4 separate regions of the Homo sapiens genome follow, and regions 2, 3 and 4 are each linked to region 1. Evidence: promoter capture Hi-C in 16 types of primary human blood cells and fetal thymus (Javierre and others, 2016). All regions are on one chromosome and are shown on one strand. The core of a region is centred on a gene start or on the middle of the fragment in contact, and the rest is flanking DNA. Distances in the headings are between cores, read along the strand shown.

What was found. Contacts are between HindIII fragments. The CHiCAGO score rates a contact against its expected background, and 5 or more counts as called.
Region 2: a contact is called between a fragment that was not itself captured here and the fragment with the promoter of FXN in region 1, in 1 of 17 cell types (naive B cells). The highest score is 5.4, in naive B cells.
Region 3: a contact is called between a fragment that was not itself captured here and the fragment with the promoter of FXN in region 1, in 1 of 17 cell types (M0 macrophages). The highest score is 5.7, in M0 macrophages.
Region 4: a fragment that was not itself captured here is called in contact with the fragment with the promoter of FXN in region 1 in 1 of 17 cell types (monocytes); the score reaches 7.1 in monocytes.

The regions. Positions count from the first base shown.
Region 1 is chr9:69,033,246-69,039,690 of GRCh38, reverse strand. It overlaps FXN (frataxin), which reads right to left and starts at 3,939. Exons shown (of 5, transcript NM_000144.5): 1 at 3,744-3,939. The coding sequence starts at 3,908. RefSeq lists silencers at 2,704-2,998, 3,581-4,050 and an enhancer at 3,371-3,420. The HindIII fragment of the contact is 18,212 bases long and covers 1-6,445 here.
Region 2 is chr9:68,415,442-68,421,886 of GRCh38, reverse strand. All of the region lies in intron 6 of PGM5 (phosphoglucomutase 5), which reads right to left. Among named protein-coding and RNA genes, the nearest start is that of PGM5-AS1, 61 kb to the right of the region's middle. The HindIII fragment of the contact is 2,165 bases long and covers 1,899-4,063 here.
Region 3 is chr9:68,490,551-68,496,995 of GRCh38, reverse strand. The region is part of intron 9 of PGM5 (phosphoglucomutase 5); the gene reads right to left. Among named protein-coding and RNA genes, the nearest start is that of TMEM252, 47 kb to the left of the region's middle. The HindIII fragment of the contact is 225 bases long and covers 2,481-2,705 here.
Region 4 is chr9:68,510,760-68,517,204 of GRCh38, reverse strand. The region is part of intron 10 of PGM5 (phosphoglucomutase 5); the gene reads right to left. Among named protein-coding and RNA genes, the nearest start is that of TMEM252, 27 kb to the left of the region's middle. The HindIII fragment of the contact is 1,649 bases long and covers 1,587-3,235 here.

The DNA.
Region 1 (6,445 bases), core at 2,690-5,189:
CCCCGTCACATCCCTCCATCAAATGGACTAAGACACATCCAGTTATCTCCTCCTCGAAGCTGTCTCCAGTATTTAAGAGGAAACGTTAAAGATGCAGCCCCTGTCACATCCCTCCATCAAAAAACATAGGCTGCCTCGTGGAATCAGAGTCCTTCCCAGCCTCCAGGTAGGTAAGGCTGGGGCTGGGGGCTGTGGGGCTGTGCTTTTAAAAGCCGTTTCTGTGGATTCTTGGTTCTGCTGAGTAGCCAGATCTGAGAACCAATGATCAGGTACTAAATATGCTGTCCCATGTGGTGGTCACCAGCCCCCGTGGCTACTGAGCACTAGAAATGTGGCTAATGGGACTGAGGACCTGGATTTTCAACTTCATTTAATTTTAATTATTTGAGGTGATAATAAAGTAATAAAGTTATTAGGAGCCTTTTTTTTTTTTTTGAGACGGAGTCTCGCTCTGTCGCCCAGGTTGGAAGGCAGTGGTGCGATCTCGGCTCACTGCAACCTCCACCACCTCCCGGGTTCAAGCAATTATCCTGCCTCAGCCTCCTGAGTAGCTGGGATTACAGGTGAGTGCCACCACATCCAGCTAATTTTTGTATTTTTAGTAGAGACGGGGTTTCACCATGTTGGCCAGGCTGGTCTCAAACTCCTGACCTCAGGTGATCCGCCCATCTCAGCCTCCCAAAGTGCTGGGATTACAGGTGTGAGCAACCACACCCAGCCTAGGAGACATTTAAGTGTGTTTGGAACAACTTGACTATGTGAACCTTCATTTTTAATTGTGAATTTTATAAAAGTAAATACAGATAGAGCATTTACTTAGAAATTGTGAATTGAGATATGCTGGAAGTATATGAGTACGAAAAGAGTATGCAAGATATCTTATTACTGATTTTTTTTGTATGTCACAGAATCCCCCAAAATCTTGGCTCACTGCAACCTCTGCCTCCTGGGCTCAAGTGATTCTCATGCCTCAGCCTCCCGAGTAGCTGGGACTACAGGCACCCACCACCATGCTGAGCTAGTTTTTAGTAGAGATGGGGTTTCACCATGTTGGCCAGGCTGGTCTTGAACTCCTGATCTCAGATGATCCACTCGCCTCGGCCTCCCAAAGTCCTGGGATTACAGTCGTGAGCCACCGTGCCTGGTCTCATTACTGATTTTTAAAATACTGATTACATGTTGGAATGATAATATTTTGTATGTACTAGGTTGAATAAATATATTGTTGAAAATGATTTTTTTTTCTTTTTAACTAGAAAATGTAGAATTATGTGTGTGGCTCCCATTCTGTTTCTGTTGAACAGCTGCTTTAGAAGTAGATGCAAGGGGTGGAGAAAAGGGTGGGGAAGAGGCCTTCAAGTGAACTCAGTTTCTGATGAATTTTGGAGACCAGGGGGAGCTTAGGGTCAATCCAGGACAGTCAGGGCTTTAAAATAATTAAACAGGATGGTGGCCCCAGTTGCCACTGCCACCCACCCAACTCCTCAAATACCCAAGATGTGCAAGGGAACTATGGAACAGACAGGTTAAACAAATGTGATTAATTCAGTATAGAAAAAAAGAGGCCCAGCTGGTGACAGAGGTTGCTAACCATCTATCCAGAAACCCAGTGTCCACCTCCTGGGCGGCAGCGCCAAGTTGGGTGTGTTTGTCAGTCAATAGCCCTTAACAGCCACCAGGTACCATCTAAAAAACTGTACCACCTCTTGTCATTCTCCTAAATTAAAAACTCTGCTGATGGCCAGACGCGGTGGCTCACGCCTGTAATTCCAGCACTTTGGGAGGGCGAGGTGGGCGGATCACCTGAGGTTGGGAGTTCGAGACCAGCCTGACCAACATGGAGAAATCTGTCTCTACTAAAAATACAAAATTAGCCGATAATCCCAGCTACTCGGGAGGCTGAGGCAGGAGAATCACTTGAACCCAGGAGGCAGAGGTTGCAGTGAGCTGAGACTGAGCCACTGCACTCCAGCCTGGGCAACAAGAGGGAAACTCTGTCTCAAAAAAACAAAACAAAACACAACTCTGCTGACAACCCATGCTGTCCACACAGGCAGGGGTGGAAGCCCAATACGTGGCAGCTCAGATAGTGCACAGAAGCCAAGTAATAAATGTCTGCTTTCCTAGAGGAGATCTAAGGACCATCATGGCCACACTTGCCTATTTTTCCAGAGATGCTGGGAAATCCATTTTATTTTTTATTTTTATTTATTATTATTATTTTTTGAGACGGAGTCTTGCTCTGTCGCCCAGGCCGGAGTGCATTGGGCGATCTTGGCTTAATGCAACCTCTGCCTCCCGGGCTCAAGCGATTCTCCTGCCGCAGCCTCTGGAGTAGCTGGGATTACAGGCGCGCGACACCACGCCCGGCTAACTTTTCTTTATTTTCTTCTTCTTCTTCTTCTTTTTTTTTTTTTTTTGTATTTTTTAGTAGATACTGGGTTTCACCATGTTGGCCAGGTTAGTCTTGAACTCCGGACCTCAGGTGATCCACCTTCCTAGGCCTCCCAAAGTGCTGAGATTATGGGCATGAGCCACCGCGTCCTGCCAGGAAATCCATTTTCTAAGTCCTAACTTTTAAGCACTGGCAACCAATCCCAAAGTTTCTTCAAACACAATGTGGGCCAAATAACACGTGTGGGAAGTTCAAGCCTAAAGTACAAACTCCGGAGAGCAACACAAATATGGCTTGGACGTGGCCTGCCTCTTTCATCTCCCCTAATACATGCGGCGTACCAGCCACTCTGAAGGGATCCCCTTCCGCCTTCCTGGCCTTTGCCCAGACGGTTCCCTCCTCGTGAAACACCCTCTACCACTTCCTTGGCATCTTCAAGACCCTCATTAAATACCATGTCCTCCCCTTGAGGAATCTTCCTCATCCCCACAGCCATTCTTTGGGTTTCCTCCTTTCAAGCCGTGGCGTAACTGGGTCAGATATTTCTTTGTACCCCCCAAAGGAAGAAAGGGGAACTAATTTGAAGTTCTGAAGACTTTATCTATGTTATTCCCATTTAATCCTCACACCAGGTCCGCAAAATGGGCGTCACCTTTATCTTCTCCCTACAGAAAACAAAGCCACGTCTCAGAGAGGTTAGGGGAATCCCCCAAGGTCACACAGCTCTGCGGAGTGGGGCAGAATCTGGAATAAAGGTCGGGTCAGTTTCCAAAAGCCAGGGCCCCTGCTGCTCTAGCTATTCTGCAGCTCTGAAAGTTTCACCTCGTTCCAGGAAAGCATTTCGTTCAAAAAAATCCAGCCTTGAAAATATTAGGTGTGCGCGCGCCCGTGCGCGCAAACACACACACACAACACACACGCTATATACAGATACACACAGACACACACATTATGTGTATGTATATACTAGCAGATACCATCTATTAATATTACTGAAACAAGTTATCGCAGAGAAGTGACAAGCATGGAGACAGCCGCACACCCCTCGGAACCGGTCCCCTCCACCAGCCTGCCCTGCCTTCGCCCGTGCCTTGACCCGCAGTCGCACCGCAGGACAAAATGTCCCCTTTTCCTTCGGAAAGCAGAAGCCAGTGTAAATGCAACCGGGAGAACCAGAGAAGGGAGTTGCAAGGCCGCTTCCGCCGGGCCGCCCTGAGAAGGAGCGGGGTGAGCTAGTCCAGCGCGCGTACCCGGAGCGACCCCGGCGTGCGCGGCGCCTCCCTGCGCAGGCGTGCGGCGTGCGGCCCGCGGCGTGCGGCCCGCGGCTGTTCCCGGCGCGGATACTTACTGCGCGGCGGGGCGTGCAGGTCGCATCGATGTCGGTGCGCAGGCCACGGCGGCCGCAGAGTGGGGCCAACTCTGCCGGCCGCGGGACCCGGGTGAGGGTCTGGGCCTGGGCTGGGCTGGGTGACGCCAGGAGGCCGGCTACTGCGCGGCGCCCGAGAGTCCACATGCTGCTCCGGGTCTGCCGCCCGCTCCGCCCTCCAGCGCTGGGTGCTGCGGCGACCCCTGGTGGCCACTGGCCGCAGGCACTCTTCTGTGGGGGAGCAGCTAGAGGTTAGACCTCAGGAAGAACTTCCCAGCTTAGCACTATTCGTGCATTTAACAAAAATGGAGAGCCTGCTTTGTGCAAAGCACGGAGTGCAACCAGGACCCCTGACCCAAGGGAGACTGCAGCCTGGTGGCCCGCCGCTTCTAAAATTCTAAACAGGAGGAACTTGGGAGCTGCTGTCTTGCTGGGAAGTGGGTGCATGCACAAATTGAGGCTGCTTGGCCGCCGGTATGGGTTTACAGCAGTTGGGTATGTGGGGCCAGGAGACGGATGCCTTGTGTAAATCTGTACTCTGCCCACTTCCTAGCTGTGTGACCAGAGGGCAAGTTAATTAACCTCTCTGTGCCTTGTTTATAAAATGCGTTTTATAAAAGTTCCTACTTCATAGGATTGTGGTAAGGATAAAATGAGTTAAGCCCTGTAAAGTTTTTTTTGGACAGGGCATGTTCCTGTTAAGTGCACAATAAATATTGTTAATAGATTTTATTGATTGATTGATTGATTGAGACGGAGTCTCGCTCTGTCGCCCAGGCTGGAGGGCAGTGGTGCGATCTCGGCTCACTGCAAGCTCTGCCTCCCGGTTTCACGCCATTCTCCTGCCTCAGCCTCCCGAGTAACTGGGACTACAGGCGCCCGCCACCATGCCTGGCTAATTTTTTGTATTTTTTTTTTTTTTTAGTAGAGACGGGTTTCACCGTGTTAGCCAGGATGGTCTCGATCTACTGACCTCGTGATCCACCCGCCTCATTTATTTGTTTGTTTGAGACAGAGTCTCACTCTGTTGCCCAGGCTGGAGTGCAGTGGTGTGGTCCTGGCTTACTGCAACTTCTCCCTCCCGGGCTCAAGCAGTCTTCCCATTTCAGCCTTCCAAGTAGCTGGGACTACAGGTGTGCACCACCACACCCAGCTAGTTTTTGTATTTTTTGTAGAAAGGGGGTTTCGCTATGTTGCCCAGGGTGGTCTTGAACTTCTAGGCTCAAACGATCTGCCCGCCTGGGCCTCACAAAGTGCTGAGACGACAGGCGTGAGCCACCGTGCCTTGCCTATTGTTGATAGATTTTAAAAGAGAATTTTATTTCTGTTACATATTACAAAGGGATGCAAATTGTGAAAGTTTTCTTCACATTTTATATATGCTTTAGAGGATGTCAAATGTGAGCCGAGTGTGGTAGTGCATGCCTGTGATCTCAGCTACTCAGGAGGCTGAGGCGGGAGGATCACTTGAGCCTGGGAGCTCAAGGCTGCAGTGAGCTATGATTGTGCCTGTGAATAGCCACAGCATTCCAGCCCGGCCATCATAGCAAGATACTGTCTTAAAAAAAAAGAAAATGTCAGTTGTGTACACTTTCCATGGCAGAGAAGATGGGAAGGTACTAAAGTTCTTCCAAAGCCACTTTGTGAATCGTGAAGAGAGACATGTTTACATACTTAGGATGCTAAATGACAAGTGTCAAGAGGAATGTAAACTAACAGGTGTGAGTGTTGAGTGGGAGATTTATATAGAGCTAGGGATGGGGGAATCAAGGAAGTATTCATGGAAGAAGTGGTGTTGGCACAGGGCCTTCAAAAATAGGGTGGAGGAGGTGGGATCTGATTGCCTATCAAAGAGGTGGTCCAGGGCATTCTGGATGAGAGACATCCTTCTGTGTTTAATTAATTCTAGGCAGCTGCTTAAATACTGTTATGTATATGCCAGGCCTGGAGAAATCATTTTCCCCCTGCAAAGTATCTGGAGATGCTTTTGATTGTCACAACAGGCAGCTGTGGGGTGGGTATGTTCTACTGGCATCTAGTAGGTAGAGGCCAGGGATGAAACATCCTGTGATGTGCAGGACAGCCCCCCACCTGTGCAACAAAGAACTATCCAGTCCAAAATTCTGCCAAGATTGAGAAGCCCTCCTTGAAACCATAAAGGGAGAGCCCATAGGCATCAAAGGGTAGTGTTTTCATTGCCAGCCATGGTCTCAGACTCTGCCACACCAACAGTGAGGCCCTTCCTCACATCATCAGAACTGCATTATATACTCAGAGAGAGAAAGCTGCATCATTAGTTATTATTATTATTATTATTTGAGACAGAGTCTTGCTTTGTTGCCCAGGCTGGAATGCAGTGGTGCCATCTCTGCTCACTGCAATCTCCACCTCCTGGGTTCAAGAGATTCTGTCTCAGCCTCCAGAGTAGCTGGGATTGCAGGTGCCCACCACCACGCCTGGCTAATTTTTGTATTTTTAGTAGAGATGGGGTTTCATCATGTTGGCCAGGCTGGTCTCGAACTCCTGACCTCAGGTGATCCGCCCGCCTCGGCCGCCCAAAGTGCTGAGATTACAGGCGTGAGCCACCGCACCCTGTGCTACATCATTATTAGCTAGCATGCTTAGCAAGTTCTGGCATAGAAAGGTCACTAGCAAATGCTCCAGCTCCCTGCAAAGTTGATATC
Region 2 (6,445 bases), core at 1,732-4,231, 620 kb after region 1:
AACAGTATAAAGTTAGATTCTACATTATCTTTCTTCTCTACAAATTGTACTATGCATGTCTTAATCTAGTATCCATCTACAAAGTAAGCATCTGGAATCAGTCAGGGGCCAGTCAGGAAAGCAGAATCAGCTCTAAGTATTTCTGTTTTGTTTTGTTTTGCTTTGTTTTTGAGACGGAGTCTCACTCTGTCACCCAGGCTGGAGTACAGTGGTATGATCTCCGCTCACTGCAACCTCCGCCTCCCGGGTTCAAGTGATTCTCCTGCCTCAGCCTCCCGAATAGCTGGGATTACAGGCACGCACCACCATGCCTGACTAATTTTTGTATTTTTAGTAAAGACAGGTTTCTCCATGTTGGCCAGGCTGGTCTTGAACTCCTGACCTCAGGTGATCTGCCTCCCTCAGCCTCCCCAAATGCTGAGATTACCAGCGTGAGCCACCATGCCTGGCCAGCTCTAAGTATTTCAAACAGAAGGAATTTAATATGGAGAATCCGTTGCCCATAAGATGGAAGAGCTCAGACACCAAACAGAAGAGAGACCATCTATAGATAAACAACATCAGGAAACTGCTGTAGCCTCTGAGGCTGGAGCCACCCAACAGGACCCAGCCAGCCACCAGGGGTGAGAGAAGAAGCAGGCCCTAGGCAGAGGCCTATGCAGTGGAACTCCTGGAGATACAGGGCCGATTAGGGGAAGATCAGTGAACGGGGCAGAGTGCAAATGTGAAAATGATCAGTACACACCTCGTCTCCCCTTTGTAACACTATGTACCCTGACATGGACATGTGCACCTACATGTCCACGTGTGCATATGCACACATATACTCATCACACATTATTCGTCGACCTAGCTTTCATCAGCTTTTCCTTTCAGATAAGAAACCATCCATGGACAAAGCATACATCCCAAGTTACATCTATGATCATCATAACACCTTACACTTTATAACACTTCACTGACCCAAAGCACATTCAAAACCATCTGTGCATTTTTATTTTAGCTTTCATAACCACCACATGAGGCAATTGAGGCATTTACATCTTCATTTTATAAACAAGGAAATTTGGAGAGATTAAGGTATCCAAATAATGCATCAAAGAGTCAGGTATGACATCCCAGATTCCTCAAGCACCAAGACCAGGCTCTATGTTGTGTCTCCCGACGAACATCTGAAGGTCATGGGTGTGCACAGTAAGATCTATAGGCTCTAAGGTACCACATCTGGCCATAGATTAATAAACAAGGCTATACTAAACTAATTGCTGGCAATAGTCAGCCTCTCAATTCTTTATACTTCATATAACCCATTTTAAGAAAATGTCATCACAATGATCATTTGTATAGTACGTGACAGTTTACCATGTGCCTCCGTATTTCCACATTTGATGTAATATTCCTAAAATACAGCATGCTAAATACCCATATCTAACTGGCATGCATTGTGAGCGAATAAGCTCAAGGTCAGTGGAGCCATTTTTACAGTCCTCATAGATAATATGAACCTTGCATCCTACTTCATGAATTCAAAGGGGTCAGTTTCCTTCAGTTGTACTCAAGATCACAAGCAGAGAATTTTTCTTCAGATGTGACCTACTTCTGACTACTCCTCCAACCCACAGAATCACAGATGACAAAGCAGCTCTGACTCTGTCTTTGAGCCACACCAAGCCTCAGAGGTTTGCTGCTGGGAGGAACATAACTCTAGGGTCTTCGGAGCCCCCAGAGGGAGAGCTGAGCTGAGACTGCCATCAATACAGCAGGAATGGCTGAGCCCATTAAATAGCAGGAATTCCTCTAGGTGTACGTTTTCAGCTTGATGATACCTTGATTTGGTGTGCAAGCAGTGACAGGTCCAAACACTGGGGTCAAGACATTTTCCATGCACTTGAAAAGCTTCCTTAAGTGAGACTACAGATCAAAGGCAGCTACGCCATTTGGTAGGGAGCATTCAAAGCCTGATGGGAATCTGATTTTAACAGACAGTCTTCCAGCAGCATTAACACTCTGTAGAATGGAGATGAGGGGGATATCTCAACAATGTGAGGCTCTAACAGAATTCTGTCAAGAGGGGAAAAGGCCATCCACTGCAAAAGAGGCACAAATCCTGCCCTAGATGTTACACTGAAAATTCTTTGATTTCTACCACAAAATTATTCTGTCTTGGCTCTGAGATAACTGACATTGCCAGACTGGGGGCATTTAAATGCTAAGTAAAGACAGCAATAGATGCTGGTTACCAGGGAATGCTTCTAAGCAAAGCTAAGTCTCTGAGAGGATCAGCAGAGGAATTGTGGAGCCATCCTAGTCCTACTTTCTTTCCCCGGACCCCTAAAGTATGGCTTCTTCTGCCTCAGTTTTAAAATGCCCCAGCTCGGTCTGAAGCAGTACCTACTCTGATCATGGCCAAATCCTCCCCACAACCAATTCCTCCCAACCAGGATGCCCTTCTTTTCTAGACACCTGACTGGTGGAAATGGAGGGGGAGAAGCAAAGATAAGGGCTGGGAGCTCAGCATTAAACCTATTTGTGTTTTGCTGTTTTGCCCATAAAATGGCCAGTGATGGAGACCCCATATATTCATTGAAAATTGCCAGCAGTCTTAGAACTTTAAAACTTGGTGGAAAAAAAAAGTTAAAACATATTATCTTCTATTCATCTTCTTTCTTAGACAACAAAATCTACACATCATGGTGCCTGTATCTTACTCCTAATTAAAAATTAATAATCAGCTATGGAATTGAGATCAATTGTGTGTTACATTTAATCAAAGGTATTTCACCAGATTTCTTTGATCTGATTTTTCTGTTGAGATTTTAAAGCAGAGGTTTATTTCCACCTATACTTTGGGGCAGGGGCGCACCTTGTAAAGTATTAAGTAAAAGTTCCAGCCATTTTGAAACGGGCCACCTGATCTTTACCACATTCTCTTTTTCAGCCGACTATAAAGCTCGCATAAGCCTGGTTCCTCCTGCGGTATCATTTTACCCTCTGAACTTCATCTCCCAACACCTCCTTACTCTCTCTGACTCTGACACCCCAAGCAAGAGGCCATGGGGTGCTAGAGGGGGTTTAGGCTGGTGACCCGGCAGGGGTTCCCAGGAGAAGGAGAAAGCGGGCTTGACAAGGGAGCTGTTCATCTCCCACCCCCGCCGCAGCCAGCTGATAAGACCCCCAGGGCTCAGAGGGCATTCAGAAGGAGCCATCACAGGCGCAGAAACCACAGCGCAGCCAGTCAAGTCGTCCTGCCAAACAGCAGGCCGCAGCAAGGTGAGAAACACAGGGGAAGGCTGCAGCAGCAGCTGCAGCATCGGAGATTTCTTCTGCTTGAACACAAAGCATCCTTTCTCCTGTCGCCTTTTCAGTTTAGGACAAGCTATCAGTAACAGAGTCTGATTTCCAAAGCACTTCTCTCTCACACCCTCAATGCAGCAGGGTGTTAACTAAAAGGTCTGCAGGCTAAAAATAATACCACTTGTCTGTAAAGCTGAGCGCAGGAACAGAGTCAGGTTCTGAACTCAGATACCTTGTCTAAGCCAAAGTAGAATGGGAGGTGACAGAAACCCCATGGGGCTAATTCCCAGAGGATCCCTTCCTAAGTCCACAGAGTAAATACAACAACATTCTAGTTGATTTGCCCAGTGAAATGGGACACTTTTGTGGGCAGGCTGATATGACTCCTAAGCTCAAGACACCTTTAGTCAAATTCAACAAACAAAATGGAATCACGCCAGCAGGTGACTATAGGAAGACATATGGGGATGTGATATAGTGAAGGACAAAGTGGAGAGAATGGCCCTTGGTGGCCCCCAAAGCAGCTCAGCCTCTTGTCAGGGGAGAAACAGCAAAACAAGAGAGAGATCAAAGACAGAAGAATTAAGTTCGCTGCTCCCTGGTGGTATCAGAGAGAGCTTTGGCAATTGTGCATCTCAATTGAAGTGTAAGGCACACAGGGAACAGTTACTGCCAGAGGTTTCCATAACACAGAAAGTGAAATCAAAGTAGCCCAAGAAACCAGAGACAGGGGAGAGACATGGTCCAACTGAGGCAGAGCTAGAAAGCTTTACCTGACTTCCTCCAAGGTCTAGCATCAGATCCCAAGAAATCTGGGTGGCCGCATAGAACAATCTTTCAAGACAGGCAGGAAAAGGAGTAAGGCCTCAGCGGCTATAGCTGAAGCAAATAAGTTTTGAAGACAGGAGTTGCCCCAGAATTGTGTCGCATTTATATGCTTTCTTGTCTCTTCCTGCTTGATGAGGTGTGTAATGTACTAATCTCCAACATTAATTTTACTTCTCAATATACTTTGGGGTTAAAAATGCCTATCCTATATTTTGAATATCACCCTGAATGATGGAAATGAAAGGATACGCAGCTCAATGTTCCATGACATGGATCATCCAGGATAATTGATCAAAAATTTCCACTAATGAAGATACAACACAAGCATTTCACACGTCCCCCGGGCCCAGGGGAAGTACAGCTCAAGATCTCCTAGATTTGACAGGGATCTAGGGGGCAGTAAAGAGCTTCTTGGGGCTAATCACATATGCTTCTCAGCAGGATCAGCCTGAAAGCTGAAGGCATAACCCATTGTCAATGAAGGGACCTCCAAACATGGCTCTGTTATTATGTCTCACTGTATTTTGACAAGGAAACCCTGTTTCATGGGACCTTCTGCAAAACCTAACTTAAAAATTGTGCCTACTTTACCTAGCTGTGCTGCAGATGGTCCTAAAGATACCAGTAGGCCCGTATCCGATTCAGAGAGTGTTTGTCTTATCAGCATGGAGAACTTAGCAGCTGGATGGTGAACTCGTTGAACATAGGCTGGCCAGTCTTCACACCTCCCGTTGGTATTTGATCTTGGCTTTCCAGCCAACCTACTGAACCCCGTTAGGAAAAAAAATCTGTCAACATTCAGAGCTGAAGAGGAAATAGCATTTTTGAGATAAAATTTTCTTTGTAGCAGATGTATATTTTATTAGCTTTATCAGTGTCTTTTCTCAATAGAGTTCCACAGCAGTAGGCTGTAAAATAACAAAATCACACATAATCACAAAAGCTAGAATCACCTCTTTGAGGTTGCCTGCTTAAAGAGACCAAACAGAAAGCCCGAGAATTGAGCACATTTCTGAGATATTCTGCTGCAATTGTGTAAGATTTGTCTGCAAGCCTTAATTTTCTCATTACCTACTTTTTATAAGTGAGGCACAAATAATTGGAACTGCTTATATAGGGAAAATTGTTGAGGCTTTAAAATGTCTCAACGCCAAATGAGAAGAAAGAGAATACATATTCTTTAGTCTTAATTTGGTTCCCCAGGAGTAAACTTGAATCCTGAAAGAAGAATTCAAACTCACATAGTTTATTTTGTAGGGAGGAAGGGAATGAAGAGAACACAGGTAGGGAAGAAGAGAAATAAGACAAGGAAGAGAAGAAAATTAATAAAGATAGGCTTCTCAAGCCAATTACCACAGTAGGCAACTGAAACTTAATCCTGCATGAGCACGCTAGGGGCCCATGAAAAACACATGCCTCAGGGTCCCCCAAGGGTTAAAGGAGCTGACGTATTTATACACCAACATCATCATGCACTACTGCCGGAATCCCAACAGAGCCATCCATCACTTCTTAGATGGACTCCCTTTGGCTCAAAGCACTTCACCTAGTATTTACTTTTCTCTTACTATTTCATCTTTTTTTGTGGATGACAGGAAATCACTGGCTAACCAATAATCAGATAAGCAGAGCATTTGTGGAAGGAATTCCTCACTCTACATCTTCTCATGAGCATGGTTAATTTATCTCAGATCTGATAGCAATTCCACTTACTTAGAATTTGGATGTCATTCAGTACACACCAGGCCACAACTGAACTGGACAGCCCCTTTTAAATTTCAACAATACTAACATCTCTCACAATAGTTTCTAGCTCCCAGAAAACATAATTTCTATTCTGAAAGAGGATGGGATTAATTCAATTAATTTCAATTCAACAAAATGTACCTATGTATTTATGTATGCTATAGCTAAAATACCATTAGTGTGTGTAGATGATAGATAGATAAGATAGATAGATAGATAGATAGATAGATAGATAGATATTCCCTGCCTTAACAAATTTATAATCAAGAGTTGAAGTAGAAATGTATAAAAATACTATAAAACAAGGCATATTACAATTACTCAAAGCATAAATAAACAAGGTGCTATGCACCATTAAGGAGAGAGCAATAAATTCCAACCAGGTGAAAATGAAGGAAATTTCATTTCCTTCAGAAATGACATGAATTTGAGTTATGTCTAAGTAAAGTTGGCTCCTGTCCCTAACTGCAAGCTCCCTACCTGTGGTCAAGGTCATGGCTTCAGCTGTCCACATTTCTGTGTCCATGTTCCAGGGGATTCCTCCAGGTTCCAGGCTGTGCTTTGAATCCCCTTGACT
Region 3 (6,445 bases), core at 1,344-3,843, 540 kb after region 1:
CGTTGTCACTACACGTGGGGCGCGTGAGCACGTGACTCTGCTCAGAACTATGGCTTACCCATAAATTGGTTAAAGCAATATCTAAGGATGAGGTCCTAACCCACCTGTTGCAGATTCCAAGTCACTTGGGATTACCTCTTCTGATGAGCCCCCAGACTCAACCCTTTGAAGTACCTCCCATTAAACAATTAACATTCTCAGATTCATTTTTGGCCAGTGAGGGGAAATTTAAGAATTCAGGTCATAACAAACTATAAACATGTGTTATCTGCTCATAACTAAGCCTTTTAAAAATGAAATAATGTTATTGTTTTCCCCTGAGGTTAATTATAATGTCTTTGACTATACTACATGCTACATGCCTAGAAGATTGTTAGAACCTATGTCTGGTAGCCTGGAATAGATTTCTCACTTGGAAAGATGACAAAGATGTGAATAGCATGCATCAGCCTACTGGAAATGGTCCAGCATCTTCCCTCTTTCCTAGGAAACTAACCATGAGATCTTAACTGAGAATCCATGTTGCTTTTCAAGACCATTCCAGGTGAGGAACATCATTAATTCTCCTTCTCCACATGGAATGTAAGGGTTTCTTTAGAGCCAGCCTAGTTCTGTGCTGCAACAATCCCAGCACCATGTCTGCTGAGGCCCCCTTTTATGTGTGAATAGCTGTATTGGATTGCTTTGGGATCTGCATGTTCTTTCAACGAACTTAATGAATTTGCAACCCAGACACGAGCCATGTTCTTTCCATCATGTGTCATCACCCAATAGCATTTAAACTATGAAGCCAAAGTTACCACTGACCAAGACTTGCAAAGTTTCCAATTGTTCCTGAATTTCAATGAAAGAATACCAATAATCGCATTTATTTTTTAGGTTATACTAGGGGTTGGCACTATGTAGCCTGTAGGTAAGAAGTTGACCTGCCACCTACTTTTATGAAACAAGTTGTACTGGGGCACAGTCGTGTCCATTCATTTATATCTTGTCTATGGCTGCTTTTGTGCTGCAGTGGCAGAGATGAATAGTTGTGGCAGAGACCATCTAGCCCCCAAGGTATAAAATATTTACTACCTAGCCCTTTACAGAAAATGTTTGCTGACCCCTGGTATAAGGCATTACATTATTCACAACATAGAATACTTGCCTTTTATCCCTACAGCATAAGATAGAAAATATAACCATTTGAATTATCAAAATCTCAGTAGAGAGAAATTATGTTTATGTAGATTGTTATAAGGATATAAAATCCCTCCATTCCCTGGTGTTCCAGCTTCTAGTCATAGGTTCACCTGAACCTGTATTTGGCTCAAATCAACTTACCTCTCACCACCTACTCCTAACATAAATGAATTTATTAAATTGCACTTTAGTTTTATGTTCTCACTTTTACTGCAGGATGCTACAAGCTATGTCTTATAAAATCCACTTTTGTAGTCACTAGTAGAAATATTGTTAGAGGCTGTATGAAGCTCTGCCTGAGACATTCCTTCAAGAGCCAAGTATTAGGAAAGCCTTTCCTTCCCTAAGGAACTTGTATTCTTTTTCTTTCTGACAATAAGAACTTTGTAACTAACCACATTTCCCTTTTCGATATGGCTGCCAGGATACTTAATGCCAAATTTGAGGTTCAGCCCAAGTGGATCCTCATGACTTGCATGACTATAAATTTTTCTTCTTCTGTTCTTGACTCTACTCTTACTTATATATTCCCTAGTCTTGATTTATGTTTCTTATTTATATTCTAACAACTTCATTATGTGTGTTTTTGCCGCCACAAGTCTTGAAGAAACAAGGCTCAGTGAAAATGAATAAAACAAGTTTCCACCGCAGTGTTAACCTTAAAATTTTGGACTTGCTGAGTTATGACTTTGGGTTCTTCATTAGCTAACAAGCTCTGGGAGGACAGAGCCTTATATACCTCATTCATCATCATTTTATCCACATAGCCTAGGACAATGCCTGGCACACTGTAGACCTTCCATAAACACTTGTTGAATGAATGTCACTGCACGTTCGACAACTAAAGTGAGCACCACTGCAGTCCCCCTGAGGCAGTCTCAGAGAGCCTGCCTTCGCATTTAGCAAGGATCCACAGGCTACATGAAAACACATGCACGTTCTTCATGGTGAACTAGAGCTGATGTATCTACCTTGAAGAGTGGTTGCAAAAGATAAACTAAGAAAGTGCCTGGCATAGCATCATCATGGCAGGGCTTGACTGTTTATTCCTCCACCATTTCTCAAGATGTCTTAAGACAAGGGCCAGTTTTGGCTAAAAACAATGGAGTTGAACCATGGTAGGTTCTTGTCCCCAGATGTATGACCTTAGGCAAACCATTAGCTCATTAATTGCAAAATGCTACATATTGAAATCAGTGGGAGGTCTTTAAAAAATGGTGGTGCCTGGCTTTCACCCCAAACATTGTGATTTAATTCTTTTGGGGTGTTACTTGGGAATTAGGATTTTAAAAGCTTTCTGGGTGATTCTAATGTGCAGTAACTAATTGCAATAACCTCTTTTTTCTGGGTCACTTGCCTCATCTATCAAGTGACTGGACTGTGCTACATGTCCCTTATAAGGAAGGTCCCTTTAGGATTTAAGGTTTCATACATAGGCTCTCACTGGGCTGGGACTGTAGGAGGGCTGTTAACACAGTGAGGCTAATAAAACAACTTCATGCCACTGAATCCTGAAAGCTTCCCCCTGGGGCCTTGTCAGCAGCAGAACCACCTCTTGAACCATCTGACATTATTATTTTTTTTTTTTAGCACAGTCTTCGTAGGAATTCCTGGAGCAACTGTGAAAGAATTCATGATATCTCACTAGCCACAGCAGCTAGAGTAGCCGGAATATCCAGGATGACACATAGCCACACACTCAAAAAAGGGAAAAATATGCTCTCCTTTATTAGAAGACAATGTTAATTATGTGGTGGGGAGGAGTGTGGGTATCAAAAGAGCACTTCAGTTCCAGCTTAGTGTTTTCCTTACTTTTCAGTGCCTGTGGTTGTGAGCTTTAATGATGACAGTCGAGTTCTGCTCACCTTAGCTTTGTCCCAGTGAAGAATGATTGATAAAGGATTTCATAACCCTTGTCCATATGCAGCTATCTCCACACAAAAATCCTTCAGTGTGCTTCCAGTTATCACTGTAGCATCTCTTTTTCTCCCTGGATTTGCCCCCTCTTTGATTTGCTGTTTATGAAGAGTCAGTTTGGAAATGATACAAGAATAGCAACTGGATAAACTCAGGCTAGAATGCTGGCTTGGCCACTTTTTTAGCTGGTGGTCTTGAGTCACTTAAGCTCTCTAAGCCTTAGTTTCCTAAAAAGCAGTTGAAAAATAATACAGCCTAGCTTATTGGGTTGTTGTGAGTGTCAGATCTTAACATCCTGAAAGAAGGATCTTAGAGTCATTCTTGCCAATCTCTCTTTTTATTGAAAAGAAAGAAGTTAAAACACTTGCTCAAGGTAACGTATTTAGTAAATGGAGGAGCTTCATTTACTTCCATTTAGGTCTTCTGACTCTAGGCTTACAATCTGAGGTTGAACCATATGCAACTACTGATATTCACACATTGCTTCTCATGCGAAATATCTGAACAATATCTTATGTTTTGTATTTTTCCCAAAGCTGACACAGAGCCTTATGTAGAGTAGGTATCTGATAAATGTTTGATAAATAAATGTTAGGGTTTTTACTATTTTTTTAATTTTAAAAATAAACCCTTGTGTAAATCAATACAGGGAAATCTGTAAGTTGCTAAATACACACAGAGCTGCCAGATATTAGTTTGGAGACTGTAGGACATGTTGTAGCCAGGCAGGGAAGGGTGAACTGTACATTACCAACAGTTATTTGGCAGCATTGGACCTAGTCAAATACTGACTTGGGATGAATTCCAGGGGAAAACAGCATATGGCCCTGCAATCTGGTACAGTGTCGCATATATAGTCAGTTGGCCACAGCAGGCATGTGAACCTGGAGACAGGACAGCCTTGGAAGAGAGAGACTCTGCGAGCCTAACTCAGATCTTATCTCCCACAGGAAATCACAACGATTTATCTGGAAAGCGTCAAGGTGAAGATACTGCTTCGTAACATCTGAACCATATTTTGTAGAAGTGGGCATGCAGCCTAGAAAGCAGGAGATTTGGATTGAACAGACGTATCTTTCCACACACACTAAAAAAACCCACCTAGAATTACCCATTTTTCTTTGTTTAATAATTCATAGAGTTAGCTGTGAGCATGAGTCCAAAAGTGGTTGAGCAAGGCAGCAGTTACTCCATATGGTGCTTTTGTGTGAGTTAAAAACAGGTGCCCCCCTCTACCCCCAGCATGGATAAATTGCAGAAAACCATCCTTCCTTCGGCTGGCTTGGACTTCAGCTTCTCCTTCCCCATTAGGCTGGGTACCATTGTGCAGTGTGCTGACTGCACAGCCATACTCAGCTGCCCTGCTCTTGGGAGCAGTTCTCACCCAGCCTCTTTTAAAAACCAACCAGCCTTCTTGGGGGCTAACAATTGCAAAGAACTATCTGGGGAAATCAAGGTCAAGTGACTCCTTACACGCTCTTTTAAAGCACTCACCTAGAAAAGCCATGCTAGGTGATGAGAGGGCTGCTGGAGGGCGAAGACTTGAAAGCTATTCCTCATCCAAATTCCAACTCTCAAAACTGGAACAATGGAACAAAATCATGCACCTTCTATTTCCCCATTTCTTTGGCCAATGACTGCTGATCCCTGTTCACACAATATCCACCCCAGTTCTGGGATATTTTGGATTCAGGCACACTTTACCCAGACAACGGCATAGCTTCCTCCCTTAGTTCCTGTGATCATTTGCAGCTTTTCTCTTTTATATTTATATTTCCTGGTGAAGCTCATCCACCCGACAACACAGAGACATTAGTATTCCAATAGAAAGTAACTGTGTTGTCATTCGATAATGCTTACACGCTTGCTACACATTTTAGGACAATTTTACTACTGACACTTTAGACAATAGTTCTAAAGCAATCAACTTATGCCAGGAGAAGGTAATTCTTTATAACAATACTCCAGTTAACCAGAAACAGGGAGATGAGAACTTCCCGACTAACCAGAAACAGGGTCTCCCTCATTCTATTTTCTTTCTCGCTTTTTTAAAAATTTGAGATGAGGTCTCGCTGTGTTGCCCAGGGTGATCTTGGACTCCTGGACTCAAGCAATCCTCCTGTCTCAGCCTCCCAAGTAGCTGGGACTACAGGCATAAGCCATTGCACCCAGCTTCCCATTTTATTTTCAAATCAGCTGACAGGTCATTATAAAGTACTGAATATGCGTTTGGCCTTCAGAGGACAAATAGGAAAATCACAGGAAAAGTGGCTAGTAGAAATTATTTTTTTAAACCTATGGTTTTCAAAATGTCCTAGCACAAGCCATAGTGCAATACAGAGCCCGACTGTCTTTATTTTCCCCAACTACAGTGTTGTAGAGTGAGCACTGAAGTTGAGAATCCTAATCACAGTTATCGTAGCATCCCATTGAGAATGCCTATAGGAAACCTTAGCTCTTTATCTGGAGAGCTAAACAACCATATAACAACCACATTGGACTGAAGAAAAGCAAAGAGTCTGATAAAATGGTTTCACCTGGGCTGCCTTCTACCCATTCTTCAGAGTACAACTTAGATATCACCTCTCTATGGAGAACTTTCTAGAGCCCTAGTCTAGTTTCCCCCGCTATGCACACCAAATAAGTTCTTCCTCTGTAATACCGTTCAACAAACTCTACAGTAATTAAAGTTTAATATCAATTTATCTTCCCTGCTAGATTTTAAGCAGCAGACAGGAATCTCAACTGTCCTGAATACTGTTGTATCCTCGGTGCTAATGAGCTGACTGGCGTCTAGTAGGTGTTTGGTAAATACTCACTGAATAGATGAAGTTGTAAATGAATCAGCCTCTAACAACCTTCACCATATTAGACTAAGTTAGGAAAGGAATATATGTTTATTGCAGAGATTCTTTTCAACATCACAATTTTCAAAGAAAAAGGTTTTTTTAAACCCACATCGAATCACAATAAACTAAATGTGATAATAGCCCATTCACTTAAACAGTTCTGTGACTCAGTGTAGAAGTGCTATTTGTGGGTATGCTAATTTTCAGATTTAACTAAATTCTATAGGTGGGTTAATCAGTGTGACTAAAATGATTTCTGAGGCTCTACTTCCAGATGCGCAAACCACACTCCAGCAAATGGCACTCCAGCAAAAGGGACAAGGATAAATTGTTACAATTATAGTCTCTCAATTAGTTCATTGATTAGAATGTGATCAAAGTTGAAGTTGAGGTCAGGCGCAGTGGCTCACGCCTGTAGTCCCAGCACTTTGGGAGCCCGAGGCAAGCAGATCACCTGAGGTCAGGAGTTTGAGACTAGCCTGACCAACATGGTG
Region 4 (6,445 bases), core at 1,162-3,661, 520 kb after region 1:
CATGACTACAACACAGAACTAGGCTAGGCGCAGTGGCTCAGGCCTGTAATCCCAGCATTTTGGTAGGCCGAGGCGGGCAGATCACCTGAAGTCGGGAATTTGAGGCCAGTCTGACCAATATGGAGAAACCCCGTCTCTATTTAAAAAAAAAAAAAAAGACAAAAAATTAGCCGGGCGTGGTGGTGCATGCCTGTAGTCCCGGCTTCTCAGGAAGCTGAGGCAGGAGAATTGTTTGAACCCAGGAGGCGGAGGTTGCAGTGAGCCGAGACCGCGCCATTGCACTCCAGCCTGGGCAACAAGAGCGAAACTCTGTCTCAAAACAAAAAACAAAAAACAAAACAAAACAAAAAAACAGAACTATATAAACATGAAATCCAGGAACTGTCTCCACTCAACCCAGCCCTCCTAGGAGCACACTAGAGCTGGCAAAGCAGCTGTGTGGTGGACGTCACAAAGCAAAGAGGCTGAGACCCCAGGCCCACTTTGGCAAGGAGAACTCCTGGCTGAGTGGAGTCCTGAGAGTGTGTGCTCTTCCCCCTCCCATGTTGAGGGACTGCCAAGGCCCAGGCAGGGACCTCAGTGGCCAGATGGTGGAGGCCCACCCCACTACCTCCTCTCAGGCCCACCCATGGTGAGGTTCACCCCAGGTGGTGATGCTGCTTCTCCGGGAGAAGAGTTCACAGTCTCTCTGTACTTCGCCTAACTGCCACCCCACAGCCTACTTGAGGTAACCAGTTACAAGCAGCACAGTGGCATTCTCCAGCTTCCAGAGGGTACAGCCTTCTAAGAAAGGGCTAGCCCTTGGGAAAGGATCTGAGGACATAAAAGGGAATAGGAGGACTGAAAGAGAGACCACACCTTCTACTAGTCTGGAATTGTGGGGCTTGAGGACTGCCTCTAGAACATTCCTAGAGGATGGATTGAGGTGTGTTAACTATGCCAGATTGAAGATGGGAATGCTGGTCTACTCCAATTTACTTTTTATAGGTGGGTGAGCACCCCCATATTTTTTGATGGCACATAATAAGGACCTTAGTTAAGGTCTTGGGCTCTGAGGCCCAAATCTAGGTTCAAATACCAGGGACACTGTTTAGAAACAGTAGATTGTTCAAATTCTCAGGGCCAAAGTTTTCTTATTTGTAAAACATGGATGGATAGCATGACTACCTATAGCATTGGATTGTGGTGAGAATGAGATATAACACACACAAAACACATAGCATTCTGCCTAGCCCCCATACGGGGCAAGCACTTGATACTATTGTTATTATTATTATTACCATTATCATCATCATTGAAGACAGAAGCCTGACTTGCTATTAATAGAAAAGTAGGCTACAGGTGAGTGGACCAGCATACCAGTCCCAATAAGCTGACCTTTGGTAGATAGTCAACAACCCTTCTAGCTTAAGTTTATTTGCCCATAAAATAAAGTTCATGTTATCTTTTTGATAAAAGATAAAATAAAAAGAGATTAAGAATGTTGGGGTGTTCCCAGCTCTTGGAGTGAGAAAGCCACTCAAATCAGAGGCAACATCTCTCTGTGTCAGCAAGAGGGTCAGTGACACACCCAGTGGGGGAAAGCTTGCCTGCATTTCTGTTTGTGTGCAACAGGCCCTATATATCCAGCCAGAGAGAGTACAATCAGATTGCAGTTGCGTAAGGTGATGTTGACAACAGAAGGAACAGACATCATAGCTTTTGGAACACATTCCTTAAGGGTGTATCAGATTCTAAAGAAGTTAGCAAGGACTTCCACATTGAGCAAAGCTGAGTGGCAGAGTTGAGTAGCAGAAGCAAACTAGAAGAGAACTTCTGCCGTGAGGGCCACCTGAGTCTTACGGAGGAGGCAGTAGTGGGACAGTCATTAACACCAGGCACTAAAAACATGGAAATGAGCCCTGTAAACGAGGAGAGACTCTTCCCCACAATAGAAAGACTATTAGTGAAATTAATGGATGGTTAATGCACACTTTATGAATGCAGTTTGGACAAAGGAACATGTTCTTTTATGGCCTTTGCCTTTAGACTCAGCTGCCATTTAACCTAACATATTTAAAGTGTTTTAAATAATTGACCTTTTCCTAGTAATTGAAGTGTGCTAGACTGTCTACCCACAATTTTAGCAAGGCTTTGTGCCTTGGCAAAATCAAATTAGAACTTTCTTTACCTCATCCACTGTTATTTTGAATCTCTCAGCTCAACTAGTATAATTGTGTGAAGAAAACTGTCTAACACTGCTGAGTTGATATTGAGAAAGGGTTTCTATGGAGATGCAACTTGAAACTGATTTTCTTGTTTCTTTTTTTGTTAATTGACCTGAGAAGCAGGAACAAGTCTTCAAGGATCTTGGCACATTTGTCTGGGTTATTTTCTGCATGCTTTATGATTTTCCTAAATGAGGAAGAAATAGAGGCCAGGCACCCCTATAAATGCATCCTATTTAGTTTGGCATTAGAGGGTTTGTCTGGTGTGGAGACAATGTCAGTCCTGCTAAGCAGAGGTGGAAATAAGGATCCCAAAGGTCATCCATCACAGGACTTCTTGCCCTTTTTTCCCTCCAGTTTTGTTGTTGTTGTTGTTTGTTTGCTTGTTTTTTTGAGATGGAGTCTCACTCTGTCACACAAGCTGGAGTGCAGTGGTGCAATCTTGGTTCACCACAACCTCCACCGCCTCCCAGGTTCAAGCGATTCTCCTGCCTCAGCCTCCTGAGTAGCTGGGATTACAGGCACCTGCCACCATGCCCAGCCAATTTTTATATTTTTAGTAGAGAAGGGGTTTCACCATGTTGGCCAGGCTGGTCTCGAACTCCTGACCTCAGGTGATTCACCCGTCTCAGCCTCCCAAAGTGCTGGGATTGGAGGTTTAAGCCAGTACAGCCAGCATCAGTTTTCTTTTTTTAGAGATAGGGCCTCCTTAAGTTGCCCATGCTGGTCTTCAACTCCTAAGCACAAGGGATCCTCCCCACCTCAGCCTCCTGAGTAGATGGCACTTTATAGGCTAATGCCACCACGCCCAGCATTAGGACTTCTCAAACTTTAATGTGCACATGAATCACCTGAGGAGCTTGTTAAAATACAGAATCTGAGTCAGTAGATCTGGGTTGGGGCCCGAGATTCTGCATTTCTAAGTAGCAACCAGGTGATGTTGATGCTGCTAGTCCAAGAACTACCTTTAGTGTAGCAAAAGTATAAAGCGCTGTTAAAAACAGTGTAAAAGTACTTTCTTTTAAGCTTTTTATCAAATCTTATCCATTAAAAGGAAAGTGAATTCATAATGACTGCAAATTCTGAAAAACATGGGCTGATATGAGTCAGAGCCAGCGGCTTGATTCAACAATATAGAAACACTTACATGGTCAAAGACAGTCTAAAATGTATAACTGGGAAATCTCAGTATATCATCAAAGTATCTTAGCTTTTGTTAAACACCACACTGACTGTCCTGACTGTAATTCCCAAGAATATAATTAAAAGCAAAGAAAGAAAGAATAAAAACAACAGAATTGCTACTTCCTAGGGAAATGGGGTGAGGTTCCTTGGAGACTGGGTTTGAGGATCACTGTTAATGTGACTGAAATGCACTAGAACCTTGTTATCAGCTCCCGGAAGCCCCATTCACAGGGACATGCAATGTCACAGCACTCCCTGGCTTGGGGTCACTACTGAATGTCACGTGTTTGCTTCCCTTTCTTTGTAAGAATTCACCAGGGCTCATATTCATACTTTTCTTTTTTCATCCCATTTATTTCTTAACGTTTTTCCCTTTTCTTCTGACATAGTGCTGCTCTTCTGAAAATCATGTGTAAGCAATTGCTTTAAAAAGAAAAATGAAGAACCCTTCTGACAAGAAACAAAAGACCTGAAAAAGGAATTTGATTTCATGAATACAAACATAATCATTTCCCTTTCATGTTTGGTTGCAATCAAAAGCTATGGAGTTCAACCTCAGAAGCCTCATGCTGGAGATTTCCAGAGAGATTTGATATTTTTTTCCCTAAAACTTCACAATTCATCTATGTATACAAATATACACAAATACAAATGTAATTTTGAAATTTATAGTGTGTATGGTTTACCCAAACTCATGTTGATACATGCTGTACTGAATGTAATCAGAAATTGTAAATAACGTGTCATATTCAGAAACCTATAAGGCAAGGATCAACAAATTATAGGCCTTAGGCCAAACCCTGGCCACCACCTGGTTTTGGTGCAGCCATAAAAATGGTTTTTATGTTTAATGGTTGGGAAAAAAATAAGATTTTGTGACATGTTAAAATTATCTTAAGTCAATTACAGTGCCTATAGTTTTATTGGAATATAGCTTCACTAATTCATTTATGTATTACCTGTGGCGGCTTTTGTGCAACAGTGGCAGTTGAGAAGTTGTAACACAGACCATACGACTAATATTATGGGTTGAATTTGTCTTCCATAAGTGCATACGTTGAGGTCCTAATTGCCAATACCTCAGAATGTGACATTATTTTAAGACGGGGCCTTTACAGAGGTACTCATGTTAAAATGAGATCATTAGGGTGAGGTCTAATCCAATATGACTGGTGTCCTTATTAAAAGGGGAAATTTGGACCCAGAGACACACAAGAAGGAAGATGATAATGAAGAGATACAGGGAAAAGACAGCCATCTATGAGCCAAAAAGAGAGGCATGGAACAGATCAACAGATCCTTCCCTCACAGCCCTCAGAGGGAACCAGCTCTGTCAACACACTCATCTCAGACTTCTAACCTCCAGAATAAGAAACAAGTTCTTGCTTTGTAAGCCACCCAGTTTGTGGTACTTTGTTATATCAGCCCTAGCAAACTAATACAGCTAGCAAAGCCTAAACTATTTACTCTCTGGGCCTATTCAGAAAAAACTTGACTCCTGCTCCAAGGGACCAGTTTTTCTGTTTAATCCCTTGAAGCCAGAGAGCACATGCCTCCTGGCTAGTCAAAGAAACTTCAGGCATCCTTTCTTCAATGAACCTGCCTTTCATCACACACCCACTCCAGTGTTCAAGCCCTTTCTCTCTGGTAAAAGAGCTTGGAACAACCAACAGATTGCACATTATTTGGATGAAATGAAATCATTGAACAACCCCTACTCACTACCTCTTACTCCAAGCCAGGAGGGCAGTGAATTTGTTCCATGAATGGAGAGACAAGTAGAGAAACTCCACTTCATCCTTGAACCTTCTGACAAAGCATGGTACATCTAAAATGCCATGTCATGAGAGCCCTGGGAGCTCTCAGAGAAGACCTAGGTTTTTAGAAGCTGTCAGTTCTCTTGGGACATTTCTCATAGATCCAGTTTGGTCTCTGAGATGTTAATGGGAGGGAAAAGGACAAGTCAATTGCATTATAAAACAAATTGCTAAGTAATCTGGGAATCTTTTATCCTCATGTGATAAGAAAATGAGTCAATACCATTATTAATAAAAATAATGGTGGTGAAACCCCTTCTCTACTAAAAATACAAAAATTAGCCAGGCATGGTGACGCATGCCTGTAGTCCCAGCTGCTCAGGAAGCTGAGGCAGGAGAATTGCTTGAACCTGGGAGGTGGAGGTTGCAGTGAGCTGAGATTGCACCACTGCACTCCAGCCTGGTGACAGAGTGAGACTCCATCTAAAAAAAAAAAAAAAAAAAAAAAAAGGCAAAAACAATAACATTAGTGACAATCAACATTTATTGAACATTTATTCACATGTCAGGTATAAACCAAAAATATAATTCTAAGCCCCAAACTGACTGAATGGACATCTCCTCCCTGCCCCTAATCATTGGCCAAAAGGATCCCGAAAACTAGTTCAGGCCATAACAGGAAAAGGGCGTAGCATATGCCTCAATATATCCTCCTCTCTGGAGCTTAGCTGTTGACATTTAGAGATTCTAGGACTGACAGAACAGACTCTTTGTAGCAGTAAGATACCAAATTCCAACCTGACCCTGATATAGCATCAGATGACAGATAACAGGCACTGAAGGAAATCAAAGCATCTTACCCCAAAATATATTTCTTTGACGTAATTTGGAATGGCTCTACAAAGCCATCTTTTGTGGGGGAAATCGGCCTTCTGTAGAGAATCCCCTTCCCTTGCTAGATCTTCTCTGGAGAGTCTGACACCTTTTGAGGTCTAATAAGAGACATTTACCTTCTATTCTCTCTGAAGCCTGCTACTTAGAGGCTTCATCCACATAACAAGAACCTCAGCTTCCACAACTTTCTTTATCTTAACTCAAGCATTTGTTTATACTGACTTTACCTCTTCAGACAAAGCTTAGATTTTTCAACCAATTGCCAATCAGAAAATCTTTGAATCCACCTATGACCTGGAAGCCTCCCCTTCTTTGACATGTCCTGTTTTTCTGGGCCAGGCCAATATATACTTTACATGTGTTGCTTGTGTCTTTGCCTGTAACTTTTATCTTCCTAAAATG